Linked DNA regions of Homo sapiens: region 1 is linked to region 2. Evidence: promoter capture Hi-C in 16 types of primary human blood cells and fetal thymus (Javierre and others, 2016). All regions are on one chromosome and are shown on one strand. The core of a region is centred on a gene start or on the middle of the fragment in contact, and the rest is flanking DNA. Distances in the headings are between cores, read along the strand shown. Region 1 overlaps CACNA1A (calcium voltage-gated channel subunit alpha1 A). Region 2 holds the start of LYL1 (LYL1 basic helix-loop-helix family member).

Evidence for each region. The method cuts DNA at HindIII sites, captures the fragments that hold promoters and counts their contacts. A CHiCAGO score of 5 or more calls a contact.
Region 1: a fragment that was not itself captured here is called in contact with the fragment with the promoter of LYL1 in region 2 in 2 of 17 cell types (naive CD4 T cells and endothelial precursors); the score reaches 5.7 in naive CD4 T cells.

What each region holds. Positions count from the first base shown.
Region 1 is chr19:13,259,621-13,262,320 of GRCh38, forward strand. It overlaps CACNA1A (calcium voltage-gated channel subunit alpha1 A), which reads right to left. Exons shown (of 47, transcript NM_001127222.2): 26 at 1,830-1,990; 27 at 1-81. Among named protein-coding and RNA genes, the nearest start is that of IER2, 110 kb to the left of the region's middle. RefSeq lists enhancers at 1,118-2,317, 1,526-1,755. The HindIII fragment of the contact is 4,266 bases long and covers 1-2,700 here.
Region 2 is chr19:13,101,591-13,109,260 of GRCh38, forward strand. LYL1 (LYL1 basic helix-loop-helix family member) reads right to left here and starts at 1,268. Exons shown (of 4, transcript NM_005583.5): 1 at 941-1,268. TRMT1 (tRNA methyltransferase 1) reads right to left here. Exons shown (of 17, transcript NM_001136035.4): 13 at 6,161-6,269; 14 at 5,984-6,060; 15 at 3,897-4,016; 16 at 3,677-3,806; 17 at 3,317-3,491. The coding sequence ends at 3,345. It overlaps LOC105372282 (a long non-coding RNA gene), which reads left to right and starts at 2,826. Exons shown (of 2, transcript XR_001753871.2): 1 at 2,826-3,054; 2 at 3,218-3,316. RefSeq lists cis regulatory regions at 1,021-1,941, 2,741-3,321, silencers at 1,041-1,650, 4,371-4,450 and enhancers at 2,731-2,810, 2,745-3,039, 2,951-3,010. The HindIII fragment of the contact is 45,459 bases long and covers 1-7,670 here.

The DNA of each region.
Region 1 (2,700 bases), core at 1-2,500, 160 kb after region 2:
TTGTCGTAATGGAATTCATACTTCTTCCACTCCCGGTCTCGCGCCTTCACCTCATTCTTCTCGTAGAGGAGGTATTTGCCTCTGCCACAGAGAGTGGGGACTGTTAGTAAATGGGAAAGAGGGGCTGTCTTGCACTTGTCTTTGGTTATCAGAGACAGGGGGAGGGAAAGGAAGAGTGGTCCACCAGCCTAGACTGCTTGGGAAGCAGTGACTCCCCATCCTGCCACCATGTGTTCCTGTGCTTCATAGGGGATGACGTGTGCATCTACTTTGAGATAAATCCATGGGTGATGGCACAACCTTACTCCTGGTGGGAGAGCTGACCCAGGGTCCAGCACCCTCTTCCAACGTGATAACTTCTAGTCCTCAGGGTGAGAGCCTCAGGCTTGCTGGGGGTGGGGTGGAGGGAGTTTAGGAGGAGGCAGAGAGACATAGGGGACATTTAGAGGTTCATCAGGCTAAGGGAGGTTGCTACTCCTTTTCAAGGCAGGAAACAAGGGTTAGTTCCAGACTCCTATCCAGACATCTGGCATCCTCCTAATTTCAATAAATAGCCATCAAGATAACAACAGGCTACCATGTGTTGCAAAATGCCACTTTACACTGGTAACAATATCACTATATATACACATACATATATATACACACACACATATAATACATATGTGTGTGTGCGTGTACATATATATATATACATATATATATATATATATTTTTGTTGTTGTTGTTTGTTTGTTTGTTTGTTTGAGATGGAGTCTGGCTCTGTTGCCCAGACTGGAGTACAGTGGCCCAATCTGGGCTCACTGCAAGCTCCGCCTCCCGGGTTCACGCCATTCTCCTGTCTCAGCCTCCCAAGTAGCTGGGACTACAGGCGTCTGCCACCATGCCCAGCTAGGTTTTTGTATTTTTAGTAGAGACAGGGTTTCACCGTGTTAGCCAGGATGGTCTCGATCTCCTGACCTCATGATCCGCCCGCCTCGGCCTCCTAAAGTGCTGAGATTATAAGCATGAGCCACTGCGCCCGGCCTATATGTATATATTTTTGAGAGGCAGGGTCTCACTCTGTCACGCAGGCTGGAGTGCAGTGGTACCATCATAGTGCATTGCAGCCTTGAACTCCTGTGTTTAAACAATCCTCCCGCCTCAGCCTCCCGGGTAGCTGGGACTACAGGTGTGTGCTACCATGCCCCGCTAACTTTTAAAATTTATTTTGTAGGATGGGCTCTCATTATGTTGCCCAACCTGGTCTCCAACTCCTGGCCTCAAGTGATCCTCCCACCTCAGCCTCCCAAAGTGTTGGAATTACAGGTGTGAGCCACTGCACCTGGCCTCTTACCTAACTTATTTGGTAATGAAACCTGATCTGATTGGACATGAAGCTCTTTATACTTGTTATTTACCCCATTTGATGTAAATAGTTACACATTTTATGGCAGAAATATTGTGTTTGATTATAGGGCTGCCTTAGACCCAGCTGAGGGTGTCATGTCCCACATGGGAATCTCAAAATATTCTCAACTTTGAAACACATCTGCCTGTAACGATTTCAAGTAAGGAACTGTGGATGTGTATTAATATCCCTCACATGACAAAGGCGGTGGCTGAAAGGTCAATCAATTTGCTTATGACTCATTCTGTGGCTCTGGGTGGTGACTCAAATTCTAAAACCGGTTTTCTTTCTACCCAAGATCCAAGCTGGTTGCAACTGAGTCACTTCCAAGGCTCATCACTTCTCCAGTCTCTGAGCCCAAGTGGCCAATGCCTCTAGCCACTTCCCCCCTGCCCACCTGCTGGTTCCAATGGGAATGTGCTGGAAAGTGGAGACCCACCGACAATCTTTCTCAAACTCTTTGGACTCGTCAGTGCAGTGGAAGAATTTCCCCTTGAAGAGCTGCACAGCCACCACGGCGAAGATGAACATGAATAGCATGTAGACGATGAGGATGTTGAAGACGTTTTTAAGTGAGTTCACCACACAGTCAAACACAGCCTGTGGGGTGGAGTTGACAGAGAGCATGAGGGGCTGGGGACCTGCCCAACCTTCTGCCTCCAGTGGCCCATCATACCAAAATACTGCCATGATCATTCCCATTTTACAGGCAAGGTCATAAGTCAAGTCACTAGGGTAAGGTCCCCCCAGCTTTCAGAAATAAGCGTTGGAGGAGTTGGACTCAATCCTGGCATTCTATGGATCTAAAACTCCCAGATGGGATACCAGAGATGCTTTTAAGTGATACAGGAGCCCAACACAGAAAAACAAGGTAACAAAGTTACTTCCTTTCCAACTCTCTCAATCCTTTTGAGTGAAGGAGAAATTTTTACTTAGTTGCTACCATGTTAACACCTACCATTGACATTTTCCCTCTTTAACCAAGAAAGAGCAGTTGTCAATGCACAAAGCCTTAGGCAGGCAGCCATATTTGGTTAGATTTCCATAACAGTATCTGTTTTCTGTCTTTAATTTTTAGTAGAGACAGAGTCTAACTATGTTGCCCAGGCTGGTCTCATTCTCCTGGGCTCAAGCAACACTCCTGCCTTGGTCTTTCAAAATGCAGGGATTACGGGTGTGACTTGATTTAAAGAAACATATTACATAAGAGATAATACTGGGGACCCCCAGGTGAAGCATAGAGTGAAAGTGGGTGCTCTAATGACTGGATTTTATTTCCCTTAATATATATATATGTTTTTGAATGACAG
Region 2 (7,670 bases), core at 18-2,517:
CCTCAGATCTAAAGATCCAACCCAGAGACTCCTCATTAACTCATTGATGCCATGTGAGCTTGGAATCCCTCCAAGATGGACTCTGACCCTTCACGGAAGGCCCCCAGCCCCCACCCAGGCTGACCCTCTGCACCTCAAGAATGACCCTGCGGTTCTTCCCATTGCTGTCCCTGAAAGTGCTCCATAATTGCTTGAGTGACCCCCACTCCCACTGCAAACATCCCCCATAGCAACCCTGTGACCCCACTACTGACACTATGACCTCAAATGCTGACCCTAGACCCCCAAACACTGACCCCACTGCCCAGTCCAGTCCAGTCATGCCCCAACCCTCCCTCTGGCTTGGAAGCCCCCATCCTCATCAGCATCCACGCTTTTTAAAATTTGTTTATTTTTTTAGAGACAGGGTCTCCCTCTGTTGTCCAGGCTGGAGTGCAGTGGTGCAATCATAGTGCACTGCAGCCTCAAATTCCTGGGCTCGAGCCATCCTCCTGTCTCAGCCTCCTGAGTAGCTGAGAGTACAGGCATGTGCCACCATGCCCGGCTAATTTAAAAAAAAAAATTTTTTTTGTAGAGGCAGGTTCTCACTCTGTTGTCCAGGGTGGTCTGGAACTCCTGGGCTCAAGTGATCCTCCTGCCTCAGCCTCCCAAAGTGCTGGGATTACAGGCATGCACCACAATGCCCCGCGATCATCCACAGTTTTGCATACTGTTTTGACATCCCTGTTTGCTCTTGGTTCCAGAGTCCAGGATGTCCCAGCAAGGTGTGAGACTGTTGGCCCCTCTGCCCTGTCTTCCTCAGCTAGGCCCTGGGGAAGCAGGCCTGGCCCCTCACTAGTGGGTCCCTGCTGGTGAATGAATGAATGAAGGAATGAACAAAGGAATGCAGGCTGGGTCCCAGGCCCGGGATCCTCCACCTTTAGGCCCGCTCCCCTCTTACCCCAGCACTGTTCTTGCAGCCTGGTGAGTGCCCTGGCTCTGTCCCGTCAGGGCTGGCAGTCTGGGCCAGGGTGTGGTTTCCAGCGTCAGGCCAGGCTCTGCTGTCTCGCGAGGGTCCGGCCTCAATGCTCCAGGCCCCGGCGTTGGGCCGCGCCTCCTCGTGGGCCTCGGAAGGCCAGGATAGCCGAGGTCTCCGCGTAGGTCCCCCCCAGGGAAAGTGAGCGGCTCCCGGGCCGGCCCGCCTTCTCCCCGCCCCCGGCGGCCCGGTTTCCTCCCTCTCACCCCTGGCGGCGCAGCGGCCGGAGGATGCTGGCCCAGTGCAGATAAGGGCCAGGCTGCCTGGCCGCGCCTGATAAGGAGCCTGGCTGACCCCGGAGGAAACCAGCGGGCGGGGACCTAGCAGCGCGGGCCTCCCGGCCCCGCCCCCAGCCGGCGCTGGCAGGACTCGGTCCGCCACCCCTCAGGGCTTCGCCTTCCGCTCCCCCAGCCACTGTAGGGACCCCGGGCCTCTGGGGACCCGGGCCCCAGGGCAGCCGGGGAGGGAGGTGCCTGGATGCACGCAGGGGGTAAACTGAGGCAGGGAAGCTGCCTCCTCTTATGTCCGAGTCTGCCCTTTGGCTTTGCACACTCCCTGCCCGAATGTCTGTGCTGATGGGGGTGAGGGAGAGCCCTTTCCGGCCCGTTGGGGCCGCGTGACCCTGGGCCCCCACCTCCTCTCCTCACCCAGCCTGGTTCCTCTTTTTACAGAGGCCCTTCCCTCCTCTCCACCACCCCTACCCGGGAGTGGGGCACCCAAAGGGGAACAGTTCTAACAGTCTGGCCTTGGGTGTCCAGCCTGGGCAGGTGTCCCAAGCCCTCAGCACAGTATCCACACATTTCCAAGCCCAGGAGGGTGAGAGGAAGAGCCATGGCTGTCAGGGGTGGGGTGGGGAAGTTGGATTTCCTAGGGTGCTGGGGCTGGTGTGACCTTCCAGTAGATGCCCAACAGGTCCCCACAACTATAGGCCTCTTGGCTACAGGATCACATAACTCCAACTTGGTGGTCCATGGCCCTCACCCCACAGCACCCGGCCCCTTCATGGGGGGCAGTTATCCTGGCTTGGTGGTAAACCTCAAGACCCTACTGGAGCCTCCCACAGGGAGAGGCTCTGGGCACAGCCAGGCAGCAGCAGCTACCAGACTGCCACCCACTTGTGATACTCATGCTTTGGCCCGTCTGTGTATCTGGGCAACTGCAAGAGCCCCCAGGCAGGCAGGCACCCAGCAGCAGGACTACCAACCCCCCCCCCCCCCCGCCCAGGAATGGGGTGGAGCCCAGGACCCCACGATCAACACCTCCATTGCTTTCCTCCAAAGAAGCAGGAACTAAAGTTTTATGCAGTAAAGGCCGGGCTTGGTGGCTCATGCCTGTCATCCCAGCACTTTGGGAGGCTGAGGCTGGCGGATTGCTTGGGCTCATGAGTTTGAGACCAGCCTGGGAAACATGGCAAAACCCCATCTCTACAAAAAATACAAAAATTAGCTGGTTGTGGTGGTGCGTGCCTGTAGTCCCTGCTACTCTGGAGGCTGAGGTGGGAGGATGGCGTGAGCCTGGGAGGTGGAGGCTGCAGTGAGCCAATATTGCGCCACTGCACTCCAGCCTGGGCCACACACCTAGACCTTGCCTCAAAAAAAAAAAAAAAAAAAAAAAAATTAAGCGCTAACTCTGATATCGCTACAAGGAGGGTCCTAAGATTAGCCTCATTACAGATGGGGATGAAGGGAGCAGGAGCCAGAGAGGGGATCCTGCCCCAGGACTCTTCGTTAACGTTACTAAACCCCACTCTGGAGGGCAGGGAGGGGTACAGCTCCCCCTCACTGGGTGTCTGGGCAGCAGCCTGCGAGGTCCCTCTTTGTGTGCACGCCCCCCTCGCCCCGGGCCTCAGGGCAGGAAGCACCTGGTCTGGAGCGGATGCACAGGGCGCCTGGTTCCGGTCCAGCTTCCGCCACTGTGGCCCCTGGAGAGCTGGGCCAAAGAAACCAGGCGGCGAGGAGGCAGCGGCGCGAAGACACGTGGGGGCTACCGGGCAGGAGCGCCCCACTATGCGCAAGCCCGTGGCCTGGAGAGCGCTGAAGGTGGGAGGGGGAAGAGGGGCAGAACCCCCGCGGGAGCGAGCGCACAGCTGCCGCCCCGTGGCCGCTTCGGGAATCGCTGGCTCCGGCTCTGGGGTGGCTCAGTGACCCTCGCTGCAGAGGGGCCGACCACTGTGCAGATGGTCAGCTCCTACCTCCCATACAGACTCAACACTCCAGCCAGGCAGGGGCGAACGATCCCCAGAGGAACAGATCCCAGTCATGCAGCTGTATGGACCAATACACAAACCACAGGCAATCGGGAGAAGGTGACGTGACATCTCTTTATTGGTTCAGTCTATGCCTGGCCCAGCGGCAGCCCCAGGTCCAGGGGGGGTCTGGTTGGAGGTCTCTGGACAGTCAGGGGCAGCATCAGCAGAAACCCTGGGTGTCGGGGGGCTGTGGGAGTAGCAGCACTGGTCCCCGCGTTGACAGGTGCCCTGGTGGGAAGATGGTGGGTGTGAACCCCTGCCCGGAGCTCAGCAGCCCCTGATGGGATCCTTTCCTGGGATGGGAAGCCCACTCCCAAACACTTGCCTGGCCCCAGCTCCCCCAATTCTCTCCCTGTTGCCCAAAGGGGAGACTCATGTGTCCTGCAGTGGAGGAAAGGGAGGAGGGACCTCACCTCCTTAAACCTCTTGCAAGGAAATGTCTTGAGCCGGGCAGCCCGCTGGGCCACATCTTCCGGCGGCTCCTTCCGCTTGTTCTGAAGCAGCCTGCGTCTCTCCTCCATAGCTTCGTCGGCCGCCTTGCCCCTGTGCGAGGGGAGGAGTAGGTGGGACCCCATCTGCCCTTTACCCCTTCTTTCCCTGGCTGAGCCCCACCCCCACCTTACCACCACTCACCCTGGCCGGGCACGAGGCCGGGGACCCCAGTTGGCCTCCGGGTTAGCCTGGAAGCGCTTGAGTCCTCGCTGTCGGGAGCTGGGGTTGGCATCTTCCCGGATGGTGAAGTTGGCCTGCAGCCTAGGGAAGCAGGGGTGGGGCGTTGGGGCTGGGGGAAGCTGCCACACGAGTGTGTCCCCACTCCCCACAGGGCCTGTCCGCCTCCACAACACAGCACGAGGTGTCTGCTCATGTCAGGATTCTCTCATTCATCTAATAAACATTTTTGGTTTTTTTAAAGAGATGGGGTCTCGGCCAGGCACGGTGGCTCATGCCTGTAAATCCCAGCATTTTGGGAGGCTGAGGCGGGTGGATCACCTGAGGTCAGGAGTTCGAGACCAGCCTGGCCAACATGGTGAAACCCCATCTCCACTAAAAATACAAAAATTAGCCAGGCGTGGTGCCGGGTGCCTGTGATACCAGCTACTCGGGACGCTGAGGCAGGAGAATCGCTTGAACCTGGGAGGCGGAGGTTGCAGTGAGCTGAAATCGCACCACTGCACTCCAGCCTGGGCAAGAGAGTGAGCCTCTGTCTAAAAAAAAATAAAATAAAGATACAGGGTCTCACTCTGCTGCCCAGGCTGGAGTGCAGTGGTGCGATCGCCATCAAAGCTGCAGTCTGGAACTCCTGGGCTTGAGCAACCCTCCTGCCTCCGCCTCAAGCTCCTGAGTAGCTGGGACGACAGGCAGGTACCACCATGCCCAGCTAATTTTTTTAGTTTTCTGGTAGAGATGGAGTCTTAATTACTGTGTTGCCCAGGCTGGTTTCATTCCTGGGCTCAAGCGATCTTCCCGCCTTGGCCCCCAAAGCACTGGGATTATAGGAATGAGCCACCATGCCTGGCCTTAATAAACATTTTTATTTAACGACTGTGTGCCTGCATTGTTCTCAGTGCTGGGAATAGACAGTGAACAAAATGGACAAAAAGTTACCCCTGGTATGCTGGTAATGCTAATTTTCTTTTCTTTTGGGATGGAGTCTCACTCTGTCGCCCAGGCTGGAGTGCAGTGGTGCGATCTCGGCTCACTACAAACTCTGCCTCAGGTTCAAGCGATTCACCTGCCTCAGCCTCCCGAGTAGCTGGGACTACAGGCATGTGCCACCACACCTGGCTAATTTTTTTTTTTTTTTTGTATTTTTAGTAGAGACAGGGTTTCGTCATGTTGGCCAGGCTGGTCTTGAACTCCTGACCTCAGGTGATCTGCCTGTCTTGGCCTCCCAAAGTGCTGGGATTACAGGTGTGAGCCACTACGCCCAGCCCAGTCAGCAGATTTAGTTATTTTTATTTTTATTTATTTATTTATTTATTTATTTGAGACGGAGTCTTACTCTGTCACCCAGGCTGGAGTGCAGTGGCGCTATCTCGGCTCACTGCAAGCTCTGCCCCCCGGGGTTCACGCCATTCTCCTGTCTCAGCCTCCCGAGTAGCTGGGACTACAGGCACCTGCCACCACGCCCGGCTAATTTTTTTTTTTTTTTTTTTGTATTTTTAGTAGAGACAGGGTTTCACTGTGTTAGCCAGGATGGTCTCAATCTCCTGATCTCGTGATCCGCCTGCCTCGGCCTCCCAAAGTGCTGGGACTACAGGCATGAGCCACCGCACCCAGCTATTTTTTTATTCTTTTTGAGATGGAGTCTCGCTCTGTCGCCCAGGCTGGAGTGCAATGGCGCGATCTAGACTCACCGCAACCTCTGCCTCCCAGGTTCAAGCGATTCTCCTGTCTCAGCCTCCTGAGTAGCTGGGATTACAGGCACCCACCACCACACCATGCCCAGCTAATTTTTGTATTTTTAGTAGAGATGGGGTTCCACCATGTTGGCCAGGCTGGTCTTGAACTCCTGACCTCAGGTGATCCACCTGCCTCAGCCTCCCAAAGTGCTGGGATTACAGGCGTGAGCCACCTACCCAGCCCCAGTCAGCAGATTTTGAATCTCACTTGAAGAATGGGCACGAGTCTGTGTGGGGCAGCATCTGTGTTGTCTGCACACACATGTGCTTCCATGTCTGTGGGCAGCCCTGGCCGCTCCTGCATGTGCTTGCCCCTACCTGGGCTCCACACTGAGAATGCGGAACGCTGGGCTAGTCTCTGATAGTCGCTCCCGTTTCACCGGACATTCCTTCTCCTGGGGGCAGAGGTCAGAGGTTAGGGAATACTAGGCCCAAGGGACCTCCAGGTGACCACCACCTGCCCTCCCACCTGCATGAGGTCAGCCCTGCCCTCACCCAGCAACGCATGATGTCCCAGAGGGCAGAGGCAGGGGCATCCGTCTTCACAGCGTTCTTACAGGCGTGGGAGAGTGAGACCCGGAAGTCAGCGTGGAGGAGGGCCGACCTGGGGAACAGCAGGGATTATGAGGGAGATGCCGGACTCCTTGACCCCAAAGCCCAAGCTGACCAGCGTAGGTAAGACTACCTTCGGCAAGGGCTCATGGCTACAGAGTTCATTTCTTTTCTTTTCTTTTTTTTTTTTTTTTTTTTTTTGAGATGGAGTCTCGCTCTGTCGCTCAGGCTGGAGTGCAATGGCGCAATCTTGGCTCACCACAGCCTCCGCCTCCTGGGTTTAAGCGATTCTCCTGCCTCAGCCTCCCGAATAGCTGGGACTATAGGCATGTGCCACCACGCCCAGCTAATTTTTGTATTTTTAGTAGAGACAGGGTTTCACCATGTTGGCCAGGATGGTCTCGATCTCTTAACCTTGTGATCCGCCCGCCTCAGCCTCCCAAAGTGCTGGGATTACAGGAGTGAGCCACCGTGCCTGGCCTTCTTATTTATTATTTTTTTGAGGTGGAGTCTCACTCTGTCGCTCAGGCTGGTGTGCAATGATGCAATCTTGGCTCACTGCAGCCTCTGCCTCTCAGGTTCAACCAATTCTCCTGTCTCAGCCTCCTGAGTAGCTGAGATTACAGGGATGTGCCATGACGCCTGGCTAATATTTTGGTATTTTTAGTAGAGATGGGGTTTCGCCACGTTGACCGGGCTGGTCTCGAACTCCTGGCCTCAAGTGATTCGCCCGCCTCAGCCTCCCAAAGTGCTGGGATTACAGGCATGAGCCACCACACCTGGCCTTTTTCTTTTTCTAATTATTATTATTATATTTTAAATGGAGTCTCGCTCTGTTGCCCAGGTTGATGTGCAGTGGCGCAATCTTGGCTCACCACCGCCTCCTCCTCCTCCCAGGTTCCAGTGATTCTCGTGCCTCAGCCTCCCAAGTAGCTGGGACTACAGGCATGTGCCACCACACCCAGCTAATTTTTGTATTTTTAGTAGAGACAGGGTTTAACCATTTTGACCACGCTGGTCTTGAACTCCTGACCTCAAGTGATCTGCCCACCTCAGCCTCCCAAAGTGCTGGGAATATAGGCATGAGCCAATAAGCCTGGCCTAATTTTTTTTTTTTTTTTTTTTTTTTAAAGAGACAGGGTCTCATTTTGTCACCCAGGCTGGAGTGGCATGATCATAGCTCACTTTAGCATCAAACTCCTGGCCCAAATGATCCTCCCACCTCAGCCTCCTGAGTAGTTAGGACTATAGGCATGTATCACCATGCCAGGCTAATGGGTGTGTGTGTGTGTGTGTGTGTGTATACATACGTATGTATGTGTGTGTATATGTATGTGTGTGTACATATATATTTATTTATTTATTTGTTAGAGATAGGGTCTTACTACGTTGCCCAGGTTGGCCTCAAGTGATCTTCCTGCCTCAGCCTCCCAAGGTACTGGGATTACAGGAA